Regions from separate parts of the Homo sapiens genome. Here all the other regions are linked to region 2. Evidence: promoter capture Hi-C in human tissues and cell types (Jung and others, 2019). All regions are on one chromosome and are shown on one strand. The core of a region is centred on a gene start or on the middle of the fragment in contact, and the rest is flanking DNA. Distances in the headings are between cores, read along the strand shown.

Region 1 (3,866 bases), core at 505-3,004, 670 kb after region 2:
AAAAATATCGTTTATGGCAGCATCTTTTTTAGAAGTAATGACACTTGCTGAAATTAGGCAGTTTTGAGCTGTGCCATAATCCTAGTTTGGGTGTGGGGCATCAGTGCTTCTCAGACTCTACCATGCATTGAGGATCTTGTTAAATTGCAGATTGATTCATTAGGTCTGGGTTAGAGATTGAGTTGCTGCATTTCTAACAAGCTCCAGGGAACACCGATGCTGCTGGTCCAAAAACTACACTTTGAGGAGCTTGAGCAATTCACTGAACTGCAAAGGGCCTCTGTTTACCCATCTGTGAAATGAAAAGCTTGGAGTAGCCGGTCTTTGAGTGCCTTCTTTTTCCACTCCACCCCCCGCCCCTGAGACGGAGTCTCACTCTGTTGCCCAGGCTGGAGTGCAATGGCGTGATCTCGGCTCACTGCAACTTCCACCCCCCGGGTTCAAGAAATTCTCATGTCTCAGCCTCCGGAGTAGCTAGGATTACAGGCACCAGCCACCACGCCTGGCTAATTTTTGTATTTTTTAGCAGACATGGGGTTTCTCCACGTTGGTGAGGCTGGTCTTGAACTCCTGACCTCGGGTGATCCACCTGCTTCAGCCTCCCAAAGTGCTGGGATTACAGGCGTAAGCCACCACGCCCGGCCTAAGTTCCTTATCTCCAACAGTGAAAGAAGTTGTCCCTTGAGCAAATATAACTAGGTGCATCCTGAATTTTTCACTAGGACAGTTGTGAATATCTTCTTCCCTTCATCCCGCAGGACTGCACGCAGGTCCACAATGAGGAAACAAAGTGTGAGGCCAACCAAGCAGCTGACATTCAAGCAGCCACTTCTCAAGGGAAAAAACACCCCTGAAAGAGAACACTCTGCTCCAACTGGCATTTCTCCTGGTAGTGCATGATTATAACGATGTACATCATTTTCTTTTCCCAAAAGGAATAGATTTAGCAAGAACCTGAGGCTAATTCGCCCATTAAGGGAACAAAGAGTGAAATAAGGGAGGAGAATTGACAGAAATATTGCATCCGTAAATACCTTGCCAAAGAGCTTGCAGAAGTCAGCTCTCGGCACAGGGAGTCTCAGTGTCTTCGACAGAATTTGACTTGTCCTGGCTACTCCCTTCTGTTTGTTTCTCCCGCATGCTTTTCTGCAACACTAAAAGGTAGGCAGAAGGACAATATTAAAAGATGGGCAGAAGCAGCTCAGAATGCCTGGGCTGACTCCAGTGGCCGCCTAAAATAATGGGGAATCTATAGACATCTTTTCTTGTTTACCAGTGGTGGGCAAATGCTGCCACGCTAGTTCTGTAAGAACATGAAACATGTGTTATTCACCCTGATAGAAGAAAAACTGTAAATGCGCTCTAGTTCAGTTAGGGTATCAGATAAGACCGTGAGTGGCTGTTGGGTTCAATTCTCTATTTTTGCAAAACTGGGCTGGAATTATTTACTTTTAGTAACAATGCATTCGCCCCACCTTCAAACATTTTTCTCCTCCTTCTTTCCTTTTACTGGAAGAGAGTTTCATTTGTTCACAAAACTCTTTTTCTCACTTTAATTTCCTTTAAATTCAGTCCGTTTTGACTCCTAAGGAAACTTTCATTTTTAAAAAAGGACCAAACTCCTTTGTTTTTCTCTTAGATGGATGATGCCCTGCCCTGCTCTCCAGCAGCCCCCACAAAGTTAGGAGGTTTTGTTTCTTAAATTAGGCCAGAACTAGTCATTCTGATGAACTCCAACTCCAATCAAGGACATTGGCCAATCTGTCAGAACCTAAAATAAAAATAAATCCACTAGCAGTGTCTTCCACTTTGAATGTTTATCCTGCTGGGTGCCCCTCTTTCTTTCTGCAATGGAAGAACCCGCTTCCATTTTGCAAGTCTGTGTGTGCCCCCTCGTTTGGAGCCATTTGCAATCTCTTGCACTCCCGTTTCAAGGTGGAGCCCCAGCCAAGATGAGTTTCTCTGAAGAGCTGCTACCCTAATTCCTCCCGTTCACTTCGAAGCTTGTCAGGGGGACCCAAGCAATAAGAAGGTCAATAGGAAAACAAATCCCACCTTATTAAGTCTTGTTTGATCTTAAAACCACATCATCCGAGATTTCAGCGACATTATGCTGGCTCCGCACAAGAGGAACAGAGTTTTCTTATGAAAATAAATTAGACAAGCACACAGAAGAAAAAGAAAATGATGTGCAACGGTTAAAATGTTTGAGAGCCTTACATGTGGCCAGCGAGCTCAGCAAAGGACACTGGTTTCTTTTTCTCTCTTCTTTAGTCTTTTATTCCCTACTCTCTGTTCTCCTTGCAGCAAAACAAATATTTTTCCTACCACAAATATTTTTAAGGTGCTACTTTTCAATTAACGATGTTTTATTTCTTTTGTGTGATGGGGTTTTTCTTTTTCGCACTGAAATGATAAAGACACTGAAGATGGCAAAGGGAAGCCCTAGGAACAGCCTTGCTACAATCCATCAGCTGCGATAATATCAAGATGAATATATTGTCAGGAATCTGTATGTAGCATTTCATTTATCCTACCCACTCTGCTAAGAGCGGCTCCCCCGGGGATTACATTATTATTCAAGCTTCCTGGACTCACTCCAAATGCATATTGCAACTACAATTCAAAGGGAAACTTATAAAAGGTGATAGGAAATAGACCTTCTACAGAACATTTTTTAAAAATTAACCTTTTCAGAGTTTAATTCCATCCTATATACCTATAAATAGACCAGCTTTCAGGAACTAAAAACTAATCCTATAGTAATAACACAAAGCTCAATTTCTCATTCCATACGATCATTAATATTACTTTAAAAATCACGAGAAATCTCTTCAACTTCTTAAGCATTGTAATTCATTTCTGTACACCAATTCAAGAAACCTCATTAGTTTAGGTGGCCTTTTTGCAATACCATCCAAGGCACGCAAATATTTGGAATTTTTACCTTAGGTCAGAGTTTAAGAAAAAAATGATTTCTCATTTCCAGAAAGGATTTATGAATGTAGAAAAATGCTTTTGTGACAGTGACATGTTTGTGTTACCTAATTCACAAATAAAATAAGCTATATAGAATATATGAAGTAAAAATCAAAAGGAAAAAAGAGAAAGGATTTTATATAAATGGTGGATAATTTTTAAGTAAAAAAAAATCTTGTTACATCCTTAACATTTTTAAATCTTGTTACATCCTTAACATTTTTTTCTATAACCCAGTTTCAATACTCCAATCAAATGTAAGATGGAAGAGCTTTGATTTGAGAGAAAAAAAATCCTTTGAACATTGATCGACATGTGATTTGTGCAATTATTTAACCTGGATTTAACTCCCTCTACTCTATGCTCAAATCACTTGATTGACTGAGATGCTGTTTCCATTGAGCTGGGTTTACAATTATCTTTAAACAAGCGAAACTTCAAAGGCTGCTCAATGGGTATTTTCCGTTCTTCATGAGAACTCGTAAATGTATAACCTGCATATAAACAAGTCACTCTACCTAATTAAATGGAATCTCTTCCTCTCTATTAAAAATTTAGAAGTGCTGCCTGGGTATAAACATGTCATCTCAGAAGGTGGGAGGAGAGACCCTCTTAACGTCCGTGAACAACCAGCTGAATCTCCTTTAAGCAAAGCCACGTTAATAATAGCACAGACACATAAATTATTCTAATTATTTTATTATCAGTAAAGATTGGTTAAACGGAAAGGGTGTTCATTGTTGGCAATTATGCCCTCAAGTTTTATCTGACTACTAGGGAAATGCAGTCCAGGGCTTTAATTTACTTCAGAGACCGTCACATAGCTTCTTGCCCACTTTCTTTTTCAAACATCTGTATCCTAGAAGAGGTAACAGGTAATGGAGCAT
Region 2 (3,707 bases), core at 180-2,679:
AAAATCTCCCATGGCTTCTATCAGCCTTTACAATGATCCGGCTACCATGATCTCTTTGACTTTATCTTCTTGTCCCTCCACCCCCAAAACTCTTGCTCATCCCTCTCCAGATACACTGGCTTCCTTGCTATTCCTCAAACATGACAGGCCTAAAAGCATTTGTATTGGCTTTCCTATCTGCCTGAATGCTCTTCCTGATATTTACTTAGCAAATTTTCTTAATTCCTTCAAGTCTTTGCTCAAATAACACCTACTAAATGAGGCTCAAACTGACCACCGTCATCTTTAAAATACCAGTTCCCACCTCCACTCTGGAACTTTCCCGTACTCCTTTATATTTCTCTTTTTTTTTTTGATGGCACCATCACTTTCTAACACCATTATATATTTTATTTTCTGCATCCTCTAATAGAATGTAAGCTCCATGAGGGCAAAGCTTTTTATTTTGTTCACTTAAGTAAAATAGGCGTCTAGAACAGTACCTGGCACACAATAGGAGCCAAAAAAAAATCTGTTCAGTAAACGAAGGCAAATATCAGTAAGTATAATATGCGTGTGGGAGGGGAGAGGGGGTTAAAAAGGGCAAGAAGTCCCAATAGGTAGATAAAAACTCCACAGAGTAGGAATACAGAATCGTGCATCGTGTCCCATTTGACAAATTTTTGAGTTTATCTAGAAAATAGCCCTGCGTTAAACGTTTGTTAAAAGTGCTGATTTCAATGTTCTTACATTCTTTAAAAATTCCTTGTTAAGTGTTCTAATCTTTTAGATGTGGTATCAGCCACAGAAATTTATTGTTCCCTTCTTGTTTTGCAGTTCAGAAAATTAGAAGTCAAATTCGGAAGTAACTCGTCCTAGCATTTTTTGATTAAACCACCAAGTTTAAAATTCGTTCCTTTTGTCGGAGTTCGCACGAAGAAAGTTGGAAGGCAGACTTCAAACAACAAGCTACAAAGCACAGGAATGAGACATTTAAAAAATGCTCTCCGAAATTCGGCAAAACTCACAGGGCGCTAGTGGATGCTTTAAGACATTCACCTGGCTGAAAATACGGTGGTGGGCTGAAGACCTCCCCTAGGTGGGTTCTGTGGGCGCCCCGTGAACGACGAGCCTCCCGCCACGGGACGCGACCATCACCGCCGCCTCGCCGCCCTTCTCCGGTGCCGGCCGCGGGGCCTTGCCGGCAACGGTCGGTAACGGGCAGATCCCAGGAGCGAAGGGCCCTCAGAGACTACCCCACCAACGCACTCCGACTCCGGGGGGGCGGCAGGGAGCGCGGCCCTGCTTCCCTCCCTAACCCTGCCCTCCCTAACCCACTACCTGTGGGGAAGGCGCTTCCCTCCGCGGAGCGGACAGAAGCCGCCACGAGCCCGGCAGGAGGTTCCTACTTCTCCGACCACCTCTCCAGCCGCCGCAGAAACCGCAGAACTGAGCTGACGACCCGGAAGTGCTCGCGGAACCTGGAAGTGACACCCCGCCCGAGGGACGGGAGGCCCCGCCCAGCCCTGCTCTCGCCCGCCACTCAAGCCTTGTCAGGGAAGGGCGTGGAGAGGGAAGGAGGGGCGTCGGGCTGGAGCTTGAAGCCTTAAAGTGGTGGACAGGCGCTCTGCTCGAGTAATTCACCAGGTTTACTAAATCGTTCCTAAGGGAATTATAATTTTTAGAGACTAATCTTCTCCATTGTTAGATGCACAATTTAAGAAATGTAGGGCATTCATATTTCATGCCGGAAGTGTGTTCAGGGTAACAGTGTTGAAGACCTTGCAGACGAATTCTGAAAAGATTATAGCAGGGGCCGGGCGCGGTGGCGCACGCCTTAATCCCAGCACTTTGGGAGGCTGAGGCGGGTCGATCACCGGAGGTCAGGAGTTCGCGACCAGCATAATATGGTGAAATCCTGTCTCTACTAAATACAAAAAATTAGGCAGGCGTGGTGGCGCATGCCTGTAATTCGAGCTACTTGGGAGGCTGAGACAGGAGAATGGCTTGTACCTGGGAGGCGGAGGTTGCAGTCAGCTGAGATCGCGCCATTGCACTCCAGCCTGGGAAACAAGAGCGAAACTCCGTCTCAAAAAAAAAAAAAAAAAAAAAAATTATAGCAGGGTAAGCAGGGTATCTTCTTTACCCCTCGAAACAGGGCTGCAGGCAAAGTTTTTAGTTTGTGACCAGTTCATGAAGAACTTTAATTTGGGAGAAGTTATATTTAAAATTTGCATCTAATATGCAAGATAAATACTTCACTATAAATTTCAAGTTTGCAAAATCACAAATTGTTTTAGGTGTCAGGGTGCATGGTACACTAACTGGCTTAAACCCAGCAGTCATGTGTAGAGCAGTTTATCCTACAAAATAGCTGAATAGTGATTAAAGAGTATGTGCAAAACAACAACAACAAAACCACAAAAAACACCAAGTGGTATCAGCTGGAACCTCTGAGCAGGTCTATGAACTAAACAAGTTCTTCTTATTTAAGCCATGTTTTCGGCCAGGGGCGGTGGCTCATGCCTGTAATCCCAGCACTTTGGGAGGCCGAGGTGAGCGAATCACCTGAGGTCAGGAATTCGAGACCAGCCTCAACGTGGAGAAACCCCGTCTCTACTAAAATACAAAAAAAATTTCGCTGGGCGTGTTGGTGCATGCCTGTAATCCCAGCTACTCGGGAGGCGGAGGCAGGAGAATTGCTTGAACCTGGGAGGCGGAGGTTGCGGTGAGCCAAGATGGCGCCATTGCACTCCAGCCTGGGCAACAAGAGCGAAACTGTCTCAAAAAAAAAAAAAAAAAAAAAAAGCCATGTTTTCATTTTAAGCCACTCATGGTTTCATCCTTGGATTCCCCATTAATTAAAAAAAAATCTCAACTATGAAACACAAAGTTTCATTATTGTTTTGATGTTAAAATAAAGCAGGCTGAACTCTCTAATCCCCAAAGAATAGAAGCACTTAGACTATAGAAAGGGAAACAAGTGTAAAGGTCTGAAATTATTTAAGAGGTTTATAGGATAATTCAAAGCAAAAATTTAGTAGCATAATGAAAGAAAAATGTGATAAAAAGACAAAGACGAACGTTCCAATTAATTTATTTAAATTCATTAATGTTGCAAAAAATATGATGTGCAACAAATCAAGACACAAGTTATATTCCTAACAGGTCAAAGAAAATATTACATCTCCTTAGTAAATCATGACCAACTCTGGTATTTCTTACAGGGACCACATTAATATCTTGCACACACAGACATCAGAACTGAATTTCTGACAGTACTCGGCTGGGCAACATCATCTTAAGAGTAGGAAAATATCACAGTACATTAATTTTGTCTAAATGACAGCAATGAACCTGTGGTAACAAAAGTATTTTTGGAATAGATATCAAAGTGTGTTAATGTCTTAACAAACTCTGAATTGTGTTCTGTGTGAATAGTGCTCCAAGGGCTGTGCAAGTCAGTGGCCCTGAACATCATCAATATTTACTAGCTAGGTTTACACAAATAAACAAGCAACTGTTAAACGGACATTAAACTTTACAAAGTCCACATACAAAAAGTGCAGTGTAGAAGCTGATGAATGTTATTTTCCAAGTTCCTCCTTAGCCAAACTGCATAAAAATTTCAAAATGCAAATATTTTAACTTCTTGTTAAACATGATTCTAAGACATCCTACAAGCCTAGTATCATTAATTTGAAAGCACGAAATGATTTTCATTTGGT
Region 3 (3,715 bases), core at 899-3,398, 620 kb after region 2:
ATCAAAGGAAATATCTGGTGACTTTTGTTAATTAACTAAAGTCCGTAGTTTAAGATTCACACCTTGTGTTGTATAGTTTTATGGGTTTTGACAAATGCATAATGTCATGTATCCACCATTACAGTATCACATAGAATATTTCCACCACCCTAAAATTCCTCTCTGTTTTACCTATGTATCCCCGCTCCTCTGACATTTTCCCCTCAAACCCTCTGGCAAAACTGATATTTTTACTGTCTCTGCAATTTTATCTTTGCTAGAATGTCATGTAGTTGGAATCATACGGTTTGTTGCCTTTTCACACTGTTTTGTTTCACTTAGGAATATGCACTTAAGATTCTTCCATGTCTTTTCACAGCTGGATAGCTCATTTATTTTCTTGTTCCTCAATATATAATTCCGGAATGCTCCTATTTCCTTTCAGTACTTTAAAGACCTCATTCCATTAACTCCTGACTTCCATTATTCATGCTGAAAAGTTAGCTGTATGTCTTATCGTTGTTTGTTGAAATAATTTCTTTCTGTAGTTGCTTTTAAGATTTTTCTCTTTGCCTTTGGTTTCTACAGTTGTATTAAGAGGGGCCTAGATGAATTTTATTTAAATTTATTCTATTTGGGGATTCATAAACCTTTTTAATTTTAGCTGACTTCATATCTTTTCTCATTTTTGGAAACCTTGCTTGGTAGCTCTTCAAACATTGGTTCTACCACATTATCTCCCTCTTTTCATTTATAAATTTTAACTGAAAATATTCCACTTTGTTCCATATGTCTCTTACATTTATGCTTTATTTTATACATTTTTTCTCCATGTTCTTGTCCGAATATTTTCTATTGACCTGTCTTCCAGTTCATTGCTCATCTCTTTCACAGTCTAATGTGCTGTTAAATCCATATATGAAGCTTTTAATTTCACTTACTATATTTTTATTTTTATAATTTCCACTTAATTATGTTTTATAAATTCTCATTTTCTGGTAAAATTTTCAATTTTAATATCTGTTCTTTAACATACTAATCACAGTAATTTTTAAATAAACTTTTTCATTTTAAAAGTTTTAGATTTACAGAAAAATTACAAAGATAGTACAAAAAGCCTCCATATACCTCACACTATAATTAACATCCAACATGGCCTTGGGGTATAGAAACATTTCTTAAACAAGATTCAACAAGCAGAAATTATTAAGAAAAAGTGATCCATAAATTTGACTATACTAAATTTTAAATTTTGCATAGCAAAAAAATACCAGGAGATAAAAACATAAGATAAAGATAAGGAGAAAACATTTTCAAATATAACTAACAAGGAATTAATAAATTATCTTTCTTTAAAACTTCCTCAAGAATGCTTATACACTATACTGCTCAGGTGATGGGTGCACCAAAATCTCAGAAATCACCACAAAAGAATTTGTTTATGTGACCGACACCACCTGTTCCCAAAAACCTATGGAAATAAAAAATTCAAAACATTATAAAAAATACTTATACACCGTTGGTAGGAATGTAAATTAGTTCAGCCACTGTAGAAAACAGTTTGGAGATTTATCAAAGAACTTAAAACAGAACTACCATTCAACCCATCAATCTCATTACTAGGTATATATCCAAAAGAAAAGCCATTCTACCAAAAACATGCATGTGTGTGTATGTTTATGATAGCACTATTCACAATAGCAAAGACATGGAACCAACCTAGGTACCCATCAATGATGGACTGGATAAAGAAAATGTGGTATATATACACCATGGAATACTAAACAGTCACAAAAAAGAAAAAATCATATCCTTTACAACAACATGGATGCAGGTTAGAGGCTATTGTCCTAAGTGAATTAATGCAGGAAAAGAAAATAAAATATCATATGTTCTCACTTCTAAGAGAGCTAAACACTGGATGCTCATGGACATAAAGATGGCAACAAGAGACACTTGGGATTACTAGGTGGGAAAGGATGGGAGAGGGGCAAGAGTTGCAAAACTAACTATTGGTACTATACTCACTACTTGGGTGACAGGATTAATCATACCCCAAATATCAGCATCATGCTGTGTACATGTAACAAACGTACACATGTACCCCCAAATCTAAAATAAAAGTGGTAATTATAAATTAAATAAAATAAATCTCCCTTAAATTAATAATAAAAATTAATTCAGTTCACAGTTGAGGGGAACAGAATGGTCAAGTAACAAAATGATGCTTAACTTTGGTAGTAATCAAAAAATGTAAATTTTTAAAACTCCTCAAATAGACAAAAAATTTAAAGCCCAGCAATATCACATAATGGCAGAGATGTAGAACAATAGGAGCTCTGATATAATGCTCATTTTTATCTTTTAACAAAAAGGCTTTGGAGAGTAATTTAGCAAAATTCTGTAAAAGTGGAGCTGTGTATATTCTAAAACCCAAGAGTCTCTAGGTGTCTGTTCTACTGAAAATCTTGCATATAAGCACAACAGACATGTACAAGGGTTATATAGCAATTATTTATAATAGTTAAAAATTAGAAACAACCTCAAGATGCCTCAATAAGAGGATCACTGAATCCTGTTATTTAAGTGGAATTATATTCTATATAAAATTGAATTCTATTCATTCAGTGAAATGGTACATAGTAGTTAAAATATTGATCCCACCATATGTGAATCAACAGACAAATCTCAAAAACCAAATAGTGACTGGAAAAAGTATGCTGTTTTTTGTAAATGTTTTTTGTGTTTAAAACACACAAAAATGTTACAAACATAACATGTTATTTAGTTTAAAATGGAAAGTGAAGAGAAATGGAAAAGAAAATATATGAAGTACATATCACAAAAAATATCAAAATTGTGTGTGCTTGAAATGCTTCATGATTTTTTAACATAAGTGTTTAGGTACAGTCTCTGCAGAGATCTGAAACTACTATGGGTCAGACAAGGAAGCTTTCCTTCCATGTTCACAGTCAATGGGCTGGTGCCCAGGCTAGTGGGGCAGTTCTGCCATGTGCAACTGAGTGTTTCCATCTCTAACACCCACCACTACATCTACAGAATATGCAATGTAGAGCAGGAAAATGTCCAGGAGGAAGTGCGTTATGCCTTTTAAGGGCACAACCTGAAATTGCCACACATTTCTTCCTCTCACTTCCCATTGGCCAGAACTTTGCCACTTGACCATATCTTGTAAGAGAATGTGAGAGATGTTACCTCTGGCTGGGAAACCGCATGCCCAACTAAACTCTCCAGTTCAATTATTAAAGGAAGAAGAGAAGAAGGAATACAGCTGGACCATTAGCTTCCTCCACCACAGGGTGAATAGGGTGGAACCACGACATAGGTGCAGCACTGGCATTTATAGAGAGGTAACTTGTCCTTTTGCCTTAATCTCAGGATGCAGCCCCACAGCGTCCCTGCTCATCTTTCTTCTCATAGCTTCCTTGTCCCTAGTCTTACTCAGCTCCCCCTCATTCCAAAAGCACCTTCCACAAACAAGACACTCTGAGGGACTGGTGGTTCAAAGATGGCATGACATGGACCCTGGCATCAAAAGAAAATCACTTTTATGATAACCATGTTCACCACAAAAATGGCAGCATACGTGGTTTAATCTAAGCATTGGGAGGTCCCGTGAGCCAGCCATGGGAGTCTGTGAAAGCTGCCCTGTGATGCCTTTCCAGGCTTCACAGAGAAAGTAGCCCCGGAACTGAGGCTAGGAAACTGAATAGGG

What was found. The method cuts DNA at HindIII sites, captures the fragments that hold promoters and counts their contacts. A contact is called where the count stands out against the background at its distance.
Region 1: a fragment that was not itself captured here is called in contact with the fragment with the promoter of GTF2A2 in region 2 in 1 of the 25 tissues and cell types used here (dorsolateral prefrontal cortex).
Region 3: a contact is called between a fragment that was not itself captured here and the fragment with the promoter of GTF2A2 in region 2, in 1 of the 25 tissues and cell types used here (H1 embryonic stem cells).

The regions. Positions count from the first base shown.
Region 1 is chr15:60,322,680-60,326,545 of GRCh38, forward strand. No RefSeq gene overlaps it. Among named protein-coding and RNA genes, the nearest start is that of ANXA2, 73 kb to the right of the region's middle. The HindIII fragment of the contact is 3,315 bases long and covers 98-3,412 here.
Region 2 is chr15:59,656,086-59,659,792 of GRCh38, forward strand. It overlaps GTF2A2 (general transcription factor IIA subunit 2), which reads right to left and starts at 1,430. Exons shown (of 5, transcript NM_004492.3): 1 at 1,321-1,430. BNIP2 (BCL2 interacting protein 2) reads right to left here. Exons shown (of 10, transcript NM_004330.4): 10 at 3,061-3,707. RefSeq lists an enhancer at 1,237-1,466. The HindIII fragment of the contact is 8,151 bases long and covers 1-3,707 here.
Region 3 is chr15:60,275,351-60,279,065 of GRCh38, forward strand. No RefSeq gene overlaps it. Among named protein-coding and RNA genes, the nearest start is that of ANXA2, 120 kb to the right of the region's middle. The HindIII fragment of the contact is 5,023 bases long and covers 1-3,715 here.